4 separate regions of the Homo sapiens genome follow, and regions 2, 3 and 4 are each linked to region 1. Evidence: promoter capture Hi-C in 16 types of primary human blood cells and fetal thymus (Javierre and others, 2016). All regions are on one chromosome and are shown on one strand. The core of a region is centred on a gene start or on the middle of the fragment in contact, and the rest is flanking DNA. Distances in the headings are between cores, read along the strand shown.

What was found. The method cuts DNA at HindIII sites, captures the fragments that hold promoters and counts their contacts. A CHiCAGO score of 5 or more calls a contact.
Region 2: a contact is called between a fragment that was not itself captured here and the fragment with the promoter of TM6SF1 in region 1, in 2 of 17 cell types (endothelial precursors and megakaryocytes). The highest score is 6.3, in endothelial precursors.
Region 3: a contact is called between a fragment that was not itself captured here and the fragment with the promoter of TM6SF1 in region 1, in 2 of 17 cell types (megakaryocytes and endothelial precursors). The highest score is 6.2, in megakaryocytes.
Region 4: a contact is called between a fragment that was not itself captured here and the fragment with the promoter of TM6SF1 in region 1, in 1 of 17 cell types (neutrophils). The highest score is 5.2, in neutrophils.

The regions. Positions count from the first base shown.
Region 1 is chr15:83,104,585-83,109,131 of GRCh38, reverse strand. It overlaps TM6SF1 (transmembrane 6 superfamily member 1), which reads right to left and starts at 1,487. Exons shown (of 10, transcript NM_023003.5): 1 at 1,360-1,487. The coding sequence starts at 1,451. RefSeq lists silencers at 1,430-1,549, 1,580-1,859. The HindIII fragment of the contact is 11,695 bases long and covers 1-4,547 here.
Region 2 is chr15:83,199,242-83,203,666 of GRCh38, reverse strand. The region is part of intron 1 of HDGFL3 (HDGF like 3); the gene reads left to right. Among named protein-coding and RNA genes, the nearest start is that of HDGFL3, 6.4 kb to the left of the region's middle. RefSeq lists an enhancer at 3,228-3,387. The HindIII fragment of the contact is 958 bases long and covers 2,171-3,128 here.
Region 3 is chr15:83,001,568-83,006,089 of GRCh38, reverse strand. It overlaps C15orf40 (chromosome 15 open reading frame 40), which reads left to right. Exons shown (of 4, transcript NM_144597.3): 4 at 398-4,522. The coding sequence ends at 493. Among named protein-coding and RNA genes, the nearest start is that of C15orf40, 7.8 kb to the left of the region's middle. The HindIII fragment of the contact is 1,872 bases long and covers 1,580-3,451 here.
Region 4 is chr15:82,982,423-82,986,867 of GRCh38, reverse strand. RAMAC (RNA guanine-7 methyltransferase activating subunit) reads right to left here and starts at 658. Exons shown (of 4, transcript NM_031452.4): 1 at 499-658. It also overlaps a transcript of HOMER2 not described here. The HindIII fragment of the contact is 1,901 bases long and covers 1,822-3,722 here.

The DNA of each region.
Region 1 (4,547 bases), core at 238-2,737:
GATGTATTAATGTTTGTTGATGTCTATCTCATTACCTGCCTCCACAGCCTCTTCTGGCTTGTTCATAGCTATGTCACCAACACTTGGAACAGTGCCAAACACACAGTAGGCACTCAGTATATCTTCACTGAACTACCCGTAATGCCATTTTTTGGAGCACAGGGTCCCCCATGCACTATATTGACAGGCATGTAATATTCGGTGGCCCAGAGCAGCTGCCTCCAGGGGATGCCTCCAGAGACTGGGCCAGACCAAGGGTAGACACTGCTGGTGCCTGGTGAGCACTCAGTGTGGGTGCTGCCTGTATCAGGCGGCCAGGCAGCTGGAGAGGAGGAAGTTACCACCCTATGTACAGACACTCCACGGCCTGACCAGCTGAAGGGGGTTTGCAGCCTACAGACTGATGCAATTTCCTTAGCACCAACAGCTGAGAGACATAGCAGGTTACTTCCTCCTCCCTCCAGACAGCAACCAACATCAGCAGGAACAGAGGCTGGCGCCTGTCCCAACACCCGGCGACCCTCAGGCCTTCAGCTGCCGGCTGCAGGTTAGTCCGTGATCCCTGCAGTGGAGTGGGAGGCAGGGCTTCGAACCCAAGCCCTGTCCCCCTCCATCAGCCCCACCCATTTCCTTCACATTGAAGTGTTCTGCCTCTGCTGCCTGTCCCCATCCTACCCCAGCGCAGGCACTGGGAAGCACTTCTCCATTCACAACGCCCCTTCACAAAGAGGTCTCGGTGGAACCTTACAATAGGACGCACACAAAGTCCACTTGACCGGAAAACCGAGGCCAGACCACACCGTCAGTGCCAAACACCGTCAGGCCAGACACCGTCAGTGCCAAAGCCAGGCCTAGAACCCACGTCTCTGCCTGTTGGTTCCGGGCTATTTCTGCTAGTCATTCACAACAGTTTCTAAAATTAATAAGAAATGATAAGTATGCGAAAGTCCATACATGGAAACGTTCCCGTGAGATGCAAAAAGAACAAGGCACAAACGAGCTGACACGGCCAGGTTCGTAGTGTCCGTGTTTGTTCCGCTCCCCACCGGCCCCTGGGCCCCTCCAGGGCAGGGGCATGGCCGTATTGACGCCTGTGACCCCGGGCACCTGGCGCGGTGCTGGCACCAACATCCCGAAATGCGCCAGCCTGGGCACCTCAGGGCCCGGCTCCAAGACCCGGCCCGTGCGACCCCTGGGGCGCCCCCCTAGTCTGGCCAGGCGCGGGGAGCCCCTGCGGCCACGAACCTCTGTCCCGCGGCGGACGGTCCCAGCCCCCTCGGAAAAGTTGCGAGGCTCCCGTCGCGGCGAGCCAACTCCCGCCGCCCCTCGGCGCGACCCCCGCCGCGCCGGCTCACTCACTCATGCTGGGCCGCCAGGTGGTTGAAGACATAGGTGACCGGGATGGCCGAGAGGGACAGCACGAAGACCCCGGTGGCCGCAGAGGCACTCATCGCAGCCGCCGCGCCGCTCGCCCTTCACCGCATCCCGCTGGGCGCCCCGCCCCAGCTTCCGGCGGCGCCCGCGCCCCCTTGGCGCTTGCCCTTCGAGGCGCCTCAGCCGCGCCCCCCGCGTGGCGCCCTCAGCGGCGTCCCCTCAGCGGTGTCTCCTCCGCGCGCCCTCCCAGCCCGCAGCCGTCCCCCGCGCCTGGCCCCGTCGCCCCAAGTGCGCAGGGCCGCGGTGCAGTCCCGGGAGGCGTCCTTGCAGTGCTCCTGCCAGGGGCGCCACGGCTCAGCGGCAAGCGCCCGGCGGCGCCGAGGGGCGGCGACACCCCCGCGCAGGGACAGGTGCCCCTGGCGGCGCGCGCTCCGAGGGAGGGCCCGGGGCACGGCCGGGAACCGGTCATCGAAGAGCTGGAGAGGCGCGGGGCTGAGCTGCGGTCCGGGAAAGGTGGAACCAGATCCGAGGGTGTCAGAGGAGGAAGGGCCCGCGGGATCGTCTATGGGGGAGCCCACGGCCCAGAAGTGGGAAAGGACAAAATGCCCCTGAAACCTCGGAACCTCTCCGCTCCAGTAGCCATCGGCGGGCTGCTGCACGGAGCCGGCATCCGGTTTTTAAACCTGGCTCTCCAGTCACCAGCTGTTGACTTTGGTCAAATTACTTAACCTCTCTGTCTTTTCCCTTATCTGGGAAATGGGGATAACACACTTCATAGTGTGACTGTGGGGTTAACTGAGTTCATACCTACGAAGCGCGTTATCCTGTGCTGCTCACTACACCACCTCCTGCGATTCTTTTTTTTTTTTTTTCTTTAATTGAAATGGACATAAATGCTGAGACTCTAAGAGACTAGAGCGCCATTCATTGCTATTCCAGGAAGCATTCCTGGAGGCCAGGTGCCCACCAGCCAGCCTGCATTGGGCCCTGCAGGGTACAAAGACTGGAAGATAAGCCTCTTCCTCTGAATGATAGATGCCTACGGGTATGGAAAATATTGTGTGTCAAGTGTTGTGGCTATCTGAAGGGCAGTGAGTTCCAGGAGAACAGCTCAAGCAACTGAGGGAGGTACCGGCATGTACTTACTGTCTTTACAACTTCCAGGGAATTTAAGAGACCATTTATGTGTTTTTGCTGTTGCCATTTGAGGGGTTTATTTTATTTATTTATTTATTTATTTATTTATTATTTTTATTTTTTTTTTTTTTTGAGACAGAGTCTCGCTCTGTCACCCAGGCTGGAGTGCAGTGGTGCAATCTTGGCTCACTGCAAGCTCCACCTCCCGGGGTTCACGCCATTCTGCCTCAGCCTCCAGAGTAGCTGGGACTACAGGTGCCCGCCACCGCGCCGGGCTAATTTTTTGTATTTTTAGTAGAGACGGGGTTTCACCGTGGTCTTGATCTCCTGACCTCGTGATCCGCCCGCCTCGGCCTCCCAAAGTGCTGGGATTACAGGCGTGAGCCACCGCGCCCAGCCTATTTTTATTTTTATTTTTTTAAGACAGGGTCTCACTCTGCAAACCAGGCTAGAGGCAGTGGAGAGATGAGGGCTCACTGCAGTCCCCACTTTCCCACGCCAAGCCATCCTCCCAGCTTAGCCTCCTTAGCTCCTGGGACTACAGTCTCGCACCACTTCTTTGTAGAGGCAGGGTCTCACTATGTTGCCCAAGCTGGTCTCAAACTCCTGGGCTCAAGTGATCCTCCCTCCTCGGCCTCCCAAAGTGCTGGGATTACAGGTGTGAGCCACCGCACCTAGCCTCTAAAAGACCATTTGGCTCATTTTAGACATGAGGAAAATGAGCTACGAGGAGGTATGGCCTGCTCCAGGGCCACTCCACTTTTCAAATGCCAGTTCTCCTAATCCTTCATCCTAGTTCTTCTTGAAGGCTTCTCCAGCTCTGAGTGCATAACGTTTAAGCCTTGGCCCACACTGTGACATATCCAAAGTTTCTCCAAGAGGTGTCCTCACCTGTCACCTGCACATCACCCTCTTCCACCCCTAACCTTCACCACTCTCCTTAAACTCCTACTTCCTCCCTGACAAGAGACACTTCCTCCTATACCTCTGAGCTCCCAGCCAGGCTCCCAAGCCAGCCCATCCCTTCCATCAACACCCAACCTTGTTGCATCAGTCTCAGAGCTGCTCCCTCAGAGCCCACAAGGGACCCAAGTGACATGGCAAAGTTTCAAGGTATTGTGATATACATATTGGGAATTACATGATTTTTTTGTTGACAACAGTTTCTCTTTTTTTTTTTTTTTTTTTTTTTTTTTTTTTTTTTTTTTTGAGATGGAGTCTCGCTCTGTCACCCAGGCTGGAGTGCAGTGGCGGGATCTCGGCTCACTGCAAGCTCCGCCTCCCGGGTTCACGCCATTCTCCTGCCTCAGCCTCCCAAGTAGCTGGGACTACAGGCGCCCGCCACTACGCCCGGCTAATTTTTTGTATTTTTAGTAGAGACGGGGTTTCACCGTTTTAGCCGGGATGGTCTCGATCTCCTGACCTCGTGATCCGCCCGCCTCGGCCTCCCAAAGTGCTGGGATTACAGGCGTGAGCCACCGCGCCCGGCCAGTTTCTCTCTTAATGCTGAAAATATGAGTGGTCAGAATGCTTGTAGTTGGGAAGAGTTTTTCGCAGGAACCTTCCCTGGCTTTTGGGATAAGTGAACCCCTCTGGCTGCCCTGGATCCTTCCGCTCAACCTAGACACAGGCTCAAGTAGCTTCCAATTTAGAAATCTGCTCCCTGAACCTGAGTGTCCTGGGTTTTTTTTGTTTGTTTGTTTTTTGTTTGTTTGTTTGTTTTTGAGACAAAGTCTCGCTCTTTCACTCAGGCTGGAGTGAAGTGGCACAATCTCAGCTCACTGCAACCTCTGCCCTGCCCCCCGCCGGGTTCAAGCAATTCTGCCTCAGCCTCCCAAGGAACTAGGATTACAGGTGCCCGCCACCATACCCGGCTAATTTTTGTATTTTTAGTATAGATGGGGTTTCATCATGTTGGCCGGGCTGGTCTCAAACTCCTGAACTCAGGTGATCCACCCGCCTCCATCTCCCAAAGTGCTGGGATTACAGGTGTGAACCACCACACCTGGCCCTGAGTGTCCTCTTTTGCCTACCAT
Region 2 (4,425 bases), core at 1,400-3,899, 93 kb before region 1:
GGAATATTTTCTGCCTGCTTCTTGTGAGATTTGACTAGATGGATGGTCATTGTTCTTAACTTCCGAAGAGATTTTCTAGAATAGAAGTGTCAGCTTAGACATTTACCTTGTTGTTTGCTTGCATCTACATTACTAATATTATTTTTGTGTAGGAATCTTTCTTTTTTTTAGCCACCTGTTCATTTGGTGAGAGCTAGTTCAGTTAGAAGTAGATATTCCATAATCCTGCTCAACCGGGCACACACCAAATGGCAGTAAATCACAGTATACTCAACGTGAATAAACATAACCATCTGAATAAGAATACTATTAATAGTGTCAACTTGCATATAAAATACTAGTAAAATTTACTTTTTAGCTAAAAGAGTAAGAAACTGAAATCAAAATTCTGTTTTCTTCCCATACCCCACCCAAACCTTCCGCTGAGATGTGAGCACTCTGCTTATGTTACCCCCTACTCTAAAAGGTCAGAAAACAATGTAAACGAAAAGCCTCAAAATTATTGTGCTTTAACTAAAGCACTTTTTTACACTTAAAAACTTTATATGAGAATTATCAAATATTGCTAGTAGAGTGTATTGATAGTTACTTAAGAAAACTGACTTAATCTACATATGCTTACCTTGTGACCTAGCAGTCTCTTCTAGGCATATACCCAAGAGAAATGAGTGTTTATATTCACCAAAATACTGTACAAGAATGCTCATACATAACAACTTTCTTCATGATAGAACAGGAAACAACCCAAATGTCCATCAGCAGGAGAATGAGTAAACAAATTTGTAGTATATTCACATAGTGGAGTACTATTTGACAATAAAAAGGAATAAATTACTGATACAGTGGTCACTGGTTTGTAGTGGGTAGAAAGGAGTTATTGAATAGGAGAAGGCACTGGAAATGTTCCCTGTCTTGATCTGGATGGTGTTACATGGATGTGTACATATGTAAAAATGTATCAAGCTGTACATTTAAGATTTGTGCACTATACTGTATGAAAGTTATACCTCAATTTAAAAAACACATTTTATATGAGTTAGGGAGAAAGGAGAACTAATACTTCTACATGGATTAAATTTCACTATTTTTAGCTTTCAGTGAGTTGTTTTTTTTCCTTCGAGTCCTCACTCCTACCAAGCTGCATCTTCCTATTCCCTTTTGACTTATTATAGAAACTTCATTTTCTACTTTAGAGCATTCTCTTTAGACTTTCTTTGAGTTCTGGTTTCAGCCTGTCTGGTTTGTTTACCTGCATCAGTGTCTTTCTCTTCCTTTAATATTAAATCACTGCTTATCATATTTTTGATCTAGCTTTCTTTAACCTCTCACTTTGTAAAGCATAAGAATAAAGCATTTGACCTTCCTATTTATATAGCTTCAAGAGCTGAGCTCTTACTGAACTTTTGTTGAGCACCTACTGTATGTAAGGCACAGGGGTATAGTTTTTTCATATCTCTAGCAATAGATTAAATTTGCAGCAATTCTAAAACATGATTATGAAGTGTTTCCATACCCTTTATTAATATAAATATTTGTTGGGAATCTTCCTTTTCTGATCCATAGCACTTTCAGGTTTTTTGCATTTGACAATGATCTACTAAGAAGGTGATAAATTTATTTCTGGAGACCAGGCCACATTATTTTCAGAGAATCATTTGGGACTTAAGTTCTTTTTAATCTCAACATAAAGTAAGGTGTTTATAATCTTCATTACTTTGGCCTAAGAAGTACATCAGTTGTTCAGTCCTGGCACAAGCTCACTCAGTCTTTTTCCCAGGGACTACTTTCACTTTGCCAAGGATTTGGCAAATTGTCTCATTTTCTCCCACTTAATCTGGGAGCTCATAGGAACTTTAAACTTTTGATACCAATATGTTCATTTTCCGATGCTCCCGTTTCAACCAGATGAGTCTCTATTCCTGGCACATCCCCTTTGGAATTCTCTAATGACTACTGTTCCTCCATGATTTGGAAAATAATATTAATTCTCGGAAGTCAGTTTTCTACTATTAGAGATTGTATTTGATTCTTTTGGGAAATGACTGATGGTTTAAAATTATGTACAACTTCATTGAAAAGCCTGTTTGCATTAGAAAAGTATTATAGGCTTGTAAGTATAATAAATATAGTAGGAGACTAGCCCGAATATATTTATTTATTGGAGAAAGCTTTCTGTTTCAAAAGTCTCAGATGTTAGATCAGAATCCATCCCACTTGATGTAGTTATTCATCCACTACAAAAAGGTGTTCTAATCACTTGCAGTGCTACTGAAAGCATGTCCTGTGAATGTTACTTGTCAGTGACAAAATAGGTACAGAAATTGAAATAAGAGTTTAGAAATTTTTAGAGCCGTTTGATGGAGTAGCTTTGTGAATCTAATAATTGAGGCTTACATTTTGTATGTCTTTATTTTTCTCATAATTTATTTTTATTTTATAAACATGTCTGTTTGCAACTCATTAGAACTTTAAAAAAAAAAACTAGTCATTCACTCTAGGTAGAGTAGAAGTACTGACTATGAAGGATCTTTAAAGGTCAATAGTGGTCCTAATACGTAAAATAATTTGCTCATATGGTGTATTTAAACTATTGGCAACTATGTAAAAGGGGGAATGGGTTGACCTTCATGTTACAAATATTAATTTCTCCTGCATAAAAGTACCCTCATTGAAATAGAGGATAGAGATTATAAATTATTTTTTTCTGTCTTCTTTTTACCTAGATAAGAATTTACCACATTTAGTCTGGTAAATAACCATCTGTATGGTCACAGAGAGCCACACAGAAGTGAAAAAAAAAAAAAAAAAAAGAATAAAGTAATCTAATGATTGGTGAGCACAAGCCTTCAGAATGACATCCTCCAGATTTCTGAGGAAGTCCTGCAATGAAGAGAAAGAGAATCAGACCAGGGGTTAAAAGACAAGTACTTCATTCCACTACTATCTTGGTTTGTTAGGCTGGGCATCTTTTTTATTGTGAACCTCTTTGTAAAATAGGATGGATGATAATTCTTACTCTTTCCCTTCTTTTTCCTAAGGATCAAATGTTAAAATGTATATGAAAGAACTATTTGCTAATTAAGTTCCAATTAAGTTACTAAATAATTATCTCCCAAGAACACAAAGCTTCTTACTTATACAATGCAGGGAACGTAGTAAAGTCTCAGTAAATGCTTCTGTGGTTTGGAAGGTATGTTTTTCAGCAGCTGCTTTGTGGCTTTATAATAGTGAGTTGGCTCTAGACTCTGGGAATTTGGGGACTTCCCATTGTTACCCATCTTGATTTCTGAGTGTGATAGGCCATTTCTTTTTTTTCTTTCTTTTTTTTTTTTGAGATGGAGTCTTGCTCTGTCATGAAGGCTGGAGTGCAGTGGCGGGATCTCCGCTCACTGCAAGCTCCGCCTCCCGGGTTCCTGCCTCAGCCTCCCGAGTAGCTAGGACTACAGGTGCCCACCACCACGCTGGGCTGATTTTTTTGTATTTTTTTAGTAGAGATGGGGTTTCACTGTGTTAGCCAGGATGGTCTCAATCTCCTGACCTCGTGATCTGCCTGCCTCGGCCTCTCAAAGTGCTGGGATTACAGGTGTAAGCCACCACACCTGGCCTTTTTTTTTTTTTTTTTGAGATGGAGTTTCGCTTTGTCGCCCAGGCTGGAGTGCAGTGGGGCGATCTCGGCTCACTGCATCCTCTGCCTCCTGAGTTTAAGCAATTCTCTGCCTCAGTCTCCTGAGTAGCTGAGATTACAGGTGCCCACCACCATGCCCGGCTAATTTTTTTTTTGTATTTTTAGTAGAGACTGGGTTTTACTATCTAGGCCAGGCTGATCTTGAACTCCTGACCTCGTGATCCACCCGCCTCGGCCTCCCAAAGTGCTGGGATTACAGGTGTGAGCCCCTGCACCTGGCTTGTGATAGGCCATTTCTGGAAGTTCCACAGAGCTTCAGGATTTGGGGACAAGATAAACTGGACCACATTAACATACAAAAAGGGTCTAAGAATAAACTATTCTTCTCATTTGATCATTGAAACTCATATTCTGAATAGATTCTCTAAGTCTGAATATAGAGTCTATACAGCTACCCAGAAGTAGAGGTGTCAGTGTAGGGGAGTCAGTGGTAGCTGCCAGGTTGCCTGTATGGGGACTGGAAAATTTCTGATCACATAGTAATAACTTCTCAGTTTCTATTGCAAAATACGAGATGAGAGTGGTTTTAAGTGATAGTTTCAGTAGTGGTTAGCACATATAAAAATGAGTTTCACAGAAGATTAAGGATTTTTTATGATGTAGACAGGTCAGAAAATAAACTCAACTTCAGATCTCTATTTCCTTTTCCTTTGACACTGAAGTAGTACTTTATTATTAATAACATGTTTGATCTTGGAGGAAATGCTTGTTCAGAGGGAGTAGTAGTATAAATTCTCAGT
Region 3 (4,522 bases), core at 1,266-3,765, 100 kb after region 1:
CCGGCTAATTTTTTGTATTTTTAGTACAGACGGGGTTTCACCATGTTGGTCAGGCTGGTCTTGAACTCCTGACCTCGTGATCTACCCACCTTGGCCTCCTAAAGTGCTGGGATTACAGGCGTGAGCCACCGCGCCTGGCCCATTTTTGAGATTTTAATGTCCAGCTTTTATTATAGAAATTGATGTATGAAGGTAAAAACCCTGGAGAGTTGTTAGTACTAACAAATGTTTAGTAACAAATGGTAGTAAGGAAGAATCTAAGAGATAGTCTTTGGTTAGACCAGAAGTAACCAAGAGAAAGCCATCAGGAGAGCCCATTATACAACGGAGGTCTGCTATCTCTAATAGCATTAGAATGTGCTAAACAGTAAAGTATGCTTTTTCTCTTTTGGTCCAGGGTGGTAAATCTCGTGAAAAGGTGGTGAAGCTTTTGGCTTCTACAACTCCAGAAGAGATCTTGGAGAAATTAAAAAAGGAAGCCAAAAAAACATAAAAGCAAGAAATGAGGCCGGGCGCAGTGGCTCATGCCTGTAATCCCAGCACTTTGGGAGGCCGTGGTGGGCGGATCACCTGAGGTCAGGAGTTCGAGACCAGCCTGACCAACATGGTGAAACCCCATCTCTACGAAAAATACAAAATTAGCCAGATGTGATGGCGCATGCCTGTAATCCCAGTTACTCAGGAGGCTGAGGCAGGAGAATCACTTGAACCTGGGGGGCGGAGGTTGCAGTAAGCCGAGATCGCGCCGTTGCACTCCAGCCTGGGCAACAAGAGTGAAACTCTCTCCCCCCGAAAAAAAAGAAATAAAAAATACATCCTTGAGAAACTTTTTTATTGCTAATGGTGAAGAGGCTGTTAAATAGAAAAATATACTACATGCACAGAAGAACATGGGGGACATATATATATGTATATATTCGAATAAGACTCCAAAAAGTAGAAATTTAAAAAGTGCTATACATTGCATCAGGTTCTAAAATCCCAAACCCCAAACAGCCTGGAACATGTTACTCTGATTTCATGGCGTTGTAAAATAACAGAGCTGGGAAGAATATTCAAGATGACCTGATTTAACACCTTTCATTCTGTTGGGGGGCCTTTGATTTCCTATATCCAGAAGTTGAGAGACTTACTCAAGATTGTACCATGCAAGCTGGCAACTAGAACCCAAATCCTTGGACTACTTGTTGAATGCAGTTTTTCTAGATTGTAAATTAAAAATCATATCTCCACAACGGTTCTGGAATTCTGGGGATTGCCTTCTAATCCAGTTTACAAGTGACAGAAAACCTGTTATGCTGCTTTGTAGTCTTACCTTAGATTTTTAAATGCTTATTTAAATGTAAAAAAAATTTTTTTTTTACATCTTTTAAAGACTATATTTACCATTTTGTTGAAAAAGTAAAGAAAAATCATGACTTGTAATTAAATGTGAATTATAATTTTTGAGAAGTCACTGAATTTTCATCTTCCTCTAATAACTTAAATAATCAGCAAATTCAGTAGTTTTTATGAATCTCCAAAGATCCTTAAAAGAAGAAAGAGGACTTGGAAGCTATTTTCAGTATTTGTAAAAGCTTGTCAGAAATTACATCTATATTAAAGTTTCAAAAGCTAATAATATATTTTTACATCTTCAGGTCAAGTTATAGTAATTTATTAAAGAAAATAAAATTAATTTCCTTTGCTGATCAGGAGAGCTGATCTGCAGTTGTGCGCTTTGTCCAGCAAGTACATGAGAAAGATGTATTGATGGACCAAATCATTAAAAACAAAATCCACAAGGAAGAACAATAATAAAAATTGCTGATGGTAGCTGGGCTTGGTGGCTCACGCCTGTAATCCCAGCGCTTTGGAAGGTTGAGGCAGGAGGAACACTTGAGCCCAGGAGTTTGAGACCAGCCTGGGCAACGAAGTGAGACCCTGTATCTGTCTCTGTCTCTTTCTTTATAGATAGATAGATATACATAGATAGATTTTATACATAGATATATATATTTATATGTAAGATTATATATAAGACCTCATATATAAGAAGTCCAGGCCGGGTGTGGTGGCTCATGCCTGTAATCCCAGCACTTTGGGAGGTCGAGGCGGGTGGATCACCTGAGGTTAGGAGTTTGAGACCAGCCCGGCCAACATAGTAAAACCCCATCTCTACTAAAAATATAAAAACTAGCCAGGCATGGTGGTGGGTGCCTGTAATCTCAGCTACTCGGGAGGCTGAGGCAGGAGAATTGCTTGAACCCAGGAGACGGAAGTTGCAGTGAGCCCACACGGTGCCACTGCACTCCAGCCTCGGCGACAAGAGTGAGACTCCGTCTCAAAAAGAAAGAAAAAATCCCAGACAGTGAAAGAGAAGCTACTCGTCTAGTACAACTCTTAACTTGTACCAAATAGGTATCAAGGGCAAGAAAAGGTGGCTTATGTGAGATCACAGTGCACATTAATGGCAGAGCTTGGTTTAAGCCCAGCTGCTTTGTCTTCTAAACTGTGCCATATACTGCCTGCAAATGTGCTTCTGTTTTACATGGTCTTAAGAGCTTTTCCCACTCTTTCTCAAGACCATTGCCATGTGTGCTGTAAAGCCGTTTTACTTGTGGATTTTACATGGATCACTGTTAGAATGTCATAAAATGATATCATAAAAGATCAACTTTCCTGGCCGGGCATGGTAGCTCACACCTGTAATCCCAGCACTTTGGGAGGCCAAGGCAGGTGGATCACCTGAGGTCGGGAATTCGAGACCAGCCTGACCAACATGGAGAAACCCCATCTCTACTAAAAATACAAAAAATTAGCTGGGCGTGGTGGCACATGCCTGTAATTGCAGCTACTCGGGAGGCTGAGGTAGGAGAATCGCTTGAACCCGGGAGTTGGAGGTTGCGGTGAGCTGAGATCGTGCCATTGCACTCTAGCCTGGGCAAAAGGAGCGAAACTCCATCTCAAAAAAAAAAAAAAAAAAAAAGGATCAACTTTTGGTCAGGCGTGTTGGCTTACGCCTGTAATTCCAGCGCTTTGGGAGGCCGAGGCAGGCAGATCACGAGGTCAGGAGTTCAAGATCACCCTGGCCAACATGGTGAAACCCCGTCTCTACTAAAAATACAAAAGTTACCTGGGCATAGTGGCAGATGCTTGTAATCCCAGCTACTCGGGAGGCTGAGGCAGGAGAATTGCTTGTGAACCGGGACCCTGGAGGCAGAGGTTGCAGTGAGCCAAGATCGCACAACTGCGAACTGCGCTCCAGCGTGGGCTGCAGAGGCAGACTCCGTCTCAAGAAAAAAAAAAATCAGCTTTCTTTCCTTCCCCTGAATCTTCTGCAGTGCCAGTTTCATCCTCAGGCCCACTTGTTTCATGTAGACAAAAGGCCAACCAGGTTTCATATTCACGTATCAACCCCTGCAGTAGGAGAAAAGGCCACTCCTAGGAGCTCTGGTATTTTCCAGAAGCTTTCAGTCAGCCTTCCCTTGTATCAGCCCAAATCAAGTCACATGAAATTTCTAAGCCAGCCCCTGTGATCAGGGAATGCCATTCTATAACACAAGTTCCCTAAAGCAGTAACTATAGAAGAAAGAATTACCCTAATTGTTTCAGGCCAATTAAGGCCCATCCTAGAGGTGGAAATGGGGTCAGCATACTCAGAAGCAAAGAAGTAGAGAGAGTTGGATACCTGAATAAAATTGGGAAAAGTTACAAAGAGAGGAATGGATGCTGGAGAGGAACCACCAGTTTCTACTACGATAACCTATTTACTTCATTTTAAACGGTGATATTTTAAACGTGGGAACATTTTGCCTAGTGAGTTTTTTTCTTTGAGAAACGTAGCAGTATCTTGTAACAAAGAAGATATGGGGACACTCTGTCATCAAAAACTACTTTGGGGCCGGGCATGGTGGCTCACACCTGTAATCCCAGCACTTTGGGAGGCCAAGGTGGGTGGATCACCTGAGGTCAGGAGTTCAAGACCAGCCTGGCCACCATGGTGAAACCCCACCTCTACTAAAAATTACAAAAATTAGCTGGGCGTGGTGGTACATGACTGTAATCTCAGCTACTTGGGAGGCTGAAGCAGGAGAATTGCTTGAACCCGGGAATCAGAAGCTGCAGTGAGCCGGGATCACACCACTGCACTCCAGCCTGGGTGACAGAGCAAGGCTCTGTCTCAATAACAACAACAAAAAAACAGAAACAAACAAAACAAAACAAACTACTGTTGGAGGTAGGAACTGGCCCAGGGGCTGTATTCCCAGAACACGATTCCCTTTTCCCCACTGCAAACAAGATAGTCTACAGCAGCCTCACAACTTAATTGTCTCACACAGGACTATTCCTACTGTTAAGAGATCACAGCTAAGGCTTGGGCACCTTGACCTGCTGTAGAAGCTCAGTTAATGTACTTTTCATCATCTGGGCCCTGGTATTCCCCTGTAAATACTGAAGTAGACCCAGTGACCTAGTGCCCAAGACACAAAATATTCAGCCTCCGTAACATTTGTCTAATGACATGGTTCTAGCTTTGCTC
Region 4 (4,445 bases), core at 1,523-4,022, 120 kb after region 1:
CAAGAAGCTACAAGATTTGTCCTCTGGGCCTTCAAAAGCAAAATAGTTCAAGTATGAATACAAACTTCATAAAGTATGTATGTTCTTTTAGGGTAAGCCTTTCAGATTTGTACTTGAATACTGCTAATTTATTCACCACAAATAAAACCACAAAGAACTTTGGCTGCGGGCGACTAACCCTGGAAATAACCAACCAGAATGGGGTTTCGCTGCCCTGGGAGGTGAGCCCGGGGAACAGACGAAGATGCAGACTGAAAACAACTGCGTTTTCCAGTCCGTCCTCAAGGCACATCACAGCTTGCTTACCAAGGTTCTGGCAGATTTGCTCCCTTCCGAAGCACCTTATACCTCCAGAAGTGAGGGAAATTATGGGCCGTGAGAAGTAAACGGGCTTCGGTCTAGCAAAGAGTACAGATCACCGCACAGGGGGAGGACACCTCGCTGGCCACCCAGCTCGGCCGCCCCGCTCCCTCCTCCCGGGCGTCCGGGGCGACTCACCCGCCAAGGGCTATGTCAATCCAGCTCAGGCCGAACCCCGCCGGCGAGACACTGAGAAGCCCAGGAGAGGTGGCCTCTGGTCCACTACACCGTGGAACTCCAGACCACTCCAGTTCTCCAATGTAACCGAGCGCCTTCCTCTAAAATCCGACAACCACCTGACTTCCGCTTCCGGCGGGCTAAAGTTGAGGGTGCCTGTCAAGTCTCGCGATAACTAAGGCTCTCCGTGTGGATCGCTTTGCAACAGATCGCTTCTTCAAATGCTGGCACAACGCCCAGAGCTCGATGAGGTGTGGGCAAGTAGCTGTCTAAAGGTGGATGATGCCCTCCATGCACTTTCAGCCTGCCTGGTGGCTGGGCAGTCGAAAACGTCGCCGTCTATTAAGCTCCTTTGATTGGGAGCAGGTGACGGGTAGAGACGGAAGTTCTGGGAATCACCGGAGAAGGGAGGGAAGGGCTCCTTCCGGCCGCCTGCTCCCGGAGTCTTCGTGGGGAACGTGAGGTGAGAGCAGGCGGTGAAGAGTAGACACGACTGATGACTTCAGGGATGCTACACCTTTCTCTCCTGCCTGGGCAAGCCTCGGTAGTAAGATTTCCGTAGTCCGTTTTGTATGTGGTTTTGCAGAAACATACCCCCTCTCTGCTCCAGCTTCAGTCGTCAGTATCCAGCTACTTCCAAGAGTCTTGCCCATGTCTTGTGGGATGTTCAGCAAATGTATAAACACTTAATATCCCGACAAAGCTTGGCCTCTTCCCTCCCAAATTACTTCCCAGGCTATGCACCCGTTTTTGTTAATACAACCAACTTGGAAACTTTGATGTCAGATTTGATGCCCTTTCTTGCCTTTCCATGCTCCAATCACTTGCCAAGTCCTGTCGATTGTACCCCTACAGTAATTCTTGCATCTTCTTACCCACTGCCCCCACCTAATCAACGTTCTCATTACCATCCCCTGCACGGTGTCAGTGCAGTACCTTTCTCATTGATGTCCTGCCTCTAGCATCACTCTGCTACTAGCCTATCTTACATATACCTGCTATAGGTGTAGCCATCTTCAAGCACCACCGTGATCCAAAATAGCTGATCCAATGGCTCTCTGTTGCCTGTAGATTAAAGGTCAAGTTTATTAACTTGGATTCAAAACTTTTTTTATTTTCTGCTGTTCCCCTTCCATTCTCCCTCAGTCAGTGGTAAACCAGACCCTGTGAAGTACGTCATGCATAAATTATTACATTTTTATAGATTGCTCATGTCCCTTGCATGAAATACCTGTCTCTCCCCCTCATCTCCAAATGTTGAAATTCTTTCCATTATTTAAAGCTTTAGAAAGTGACATCTCTACCTAGAAATAATTTTTCTTTCTATTGAGAGTCCATCATATTTCTGGAATTTCATGTATTTAGTTATTACCACTTTCTAACTTCGAACTAAAATTATTTACTTGCAAGTCTTTCCCCCTATTAAACTGTAAACAGGCCTTTATCTAATGCATTTCTACATTCTGGAGTGTATAACATTGTGCTTTTTTTGTTTGTTTGTTTGTTTGTTTCTTTGACACAGGGTCTCATTCTGTTGCCCAGGCTGGAGTGCAGTGACGTGGTCATGGCATACTGCAGCCTCGACTTCCTGGGCTCAGGCGATCCTCTCAGCTCAGCCTCCGGAGAGCTGGGACTACAGGTGCACACCACCACCCTGCTAATTTTTTGTATTTTTTGTAGAGATGGAATTTTGCAGTATTGCCCAGTCTGGTCTCGAACTCTGGGCTCAAGCAGTCCACCCACCTCAGCCTCCCAAAGGGCTGGGATTACAGGCCTGAGCCGTGGAGCCCAGCCCCACATTGTGCTTTTTCCATGACGTTAGCACTGAATAAATGTTTGTGGAATGAATGATAGAACTATGAATATTCCAAGTAATGTTTTAGAAACATTAACCTAGCAAAAGTATATAGGATAGTATGGATGAGGGAATAGGATAGTCTTGGTGTTGGGTAGTAAAGGTAAGAGGTGTAACAACCAAGGTTACAATAATTGAATAAAAGGCCGGGTGCGGTGGCTCACGCCTGTAATCCCAGCACTTTGGGAGGTCGAGGCGGGTGGATCATGAGGTCAGGAGATCAAGACCATCCTGGCTAACACGGTGAAACCCTGTCTCTACTAAGTATACATAAAATTAGCTGGGCGTGGTGGCCGGCGCCTGTAGTCCTAGCTACTCGGGAGGCTGAGGCAGGAGAATGGCGTGAACCCAGGAGGCGGAGCTTGCAGTGAGCAGAGATTGCGCCACTGCACTCCAGCCTGGGTGACAGAGCAAGACTCCGTCTCAAAAAAAAAAAAAAATAATAATAATAATTGAATAGTACTATTCTGGAGCTCCAGTAGTGCAATTGGTTAGCGCGCTATAGTGCGCTAAATAGTAAATAGTACTATACTTAGTTACTGAGTGGATTACGAGAGAAAAAGATTGGTAGAAATCAGGGAAGGAGCTGGGTGCGGTGGCTTACTCCTGTAATCCCTGCACTTTGAGAGGCCGAGGCAGGCGGATCACTTGAGGTCAGGAGTTCAAGACCAGCCTGACCAACATGGTGAAATCCTGTCTCTACTAAAAAATCAAAAAAATTAGCCGGGCGTGGTCAGGGGCGCCTGTAATCCCAGCTACTCGGGAAGCTGAGGCAGGGAGGATTGCTTGAACTTGGGAGGCAGAGGTTGCAGTGAGCCGAGATTGCACCACTGCCCTCCAGCCTGGGCGACAGAGTGAGACTCCATCTAAAAAAAAAAAGAAAGAAAAGAAAGAAATCAGGAAAGGCTCCAATTCTTTAAGCCTGGGAAATTGGGGCTGAAAAGGAATATCCATAAGGTAAAGTGGCTTTAAGGGAAAAATGAACTCAGAGCCCAAATACATTTGTAAAATTTGAAACACTGGTGAAATATTCAAGAGAAAATTTCCAGGGAGTTGTTAGAAATACAAGACTAAATCTCAGGAAAGAGAGGCTCTACCCAGATATGTAAATGTGTGAGTAATTCATGAAGAAACAATAGTTGAAATCACTGGTGTACAGTTGCTCCCCGACAGGACTGTTTGACTTAACGATTGTTGTACTTTACAATGGTACCATGTGCATTCAGTGGCAGGGTACTTTGAATACCTATACAAACATTCTGTTTTTCACTTTCCGTACAGTAGTCAATAAATTATATGAGATATTCAACATTTTATTATAAAATAAGCTTTGTGTTAAATGAGCTTGCCCAACTATAGGCTAATGTAAGTGTTCTGAGCATGTTTAAGGTAGGCTAAGCTAAGCTATGATGTTTGGTAGATTAGGTGTACTAACTGCATTTTTGACTTAATGATGTTTTCAACTTGTGATGGGTTTATCTGGACATAACCCCGTCAAAAATCAAGGAGCAGCTGTATATGATCTTTTCAACAGGGAAAGTATTCATAGAGAAGAGAAGGCGACCAAGGCCTATCCCTCAGGAAATACCCATATTTAGGAGACAAGAACAGGAAATAGAAAACTTGAAGAGGGGCAGTGTGACAATTGAAAAACTAAGAAAAATGCTTCCTCACCTAGTATCGGGAATCAAGAAGGATATTTGGAAAAGGGGCTTCTTGTAGGCTAGTTTGGTTGTTTCCTTGTGACTATTATTGACATTATTTGTAAGTATTGAGGACTTACCCAGAAAAGAATATAGAGATTGGGCATCCCTAATCCCCAAATACAAAATACAAAATGTCCCCAAATCCAAAACTTTTTGAGTGCCAACATGACACTCAAAGGAAATGCTCATTGGAGCATTTTGGATTTCAGATTTTCATAGTAGGGATACTCAACTGGTATTTTCTTTCCTGTAAATTTGTGTGTGACACTTAGGGGCCTCTAGGCCTCTGAGAGTTTCTGTGAAGAACTCTAGGTATTCCAGCAGATTTTCAAATTTTCAAATGAAAT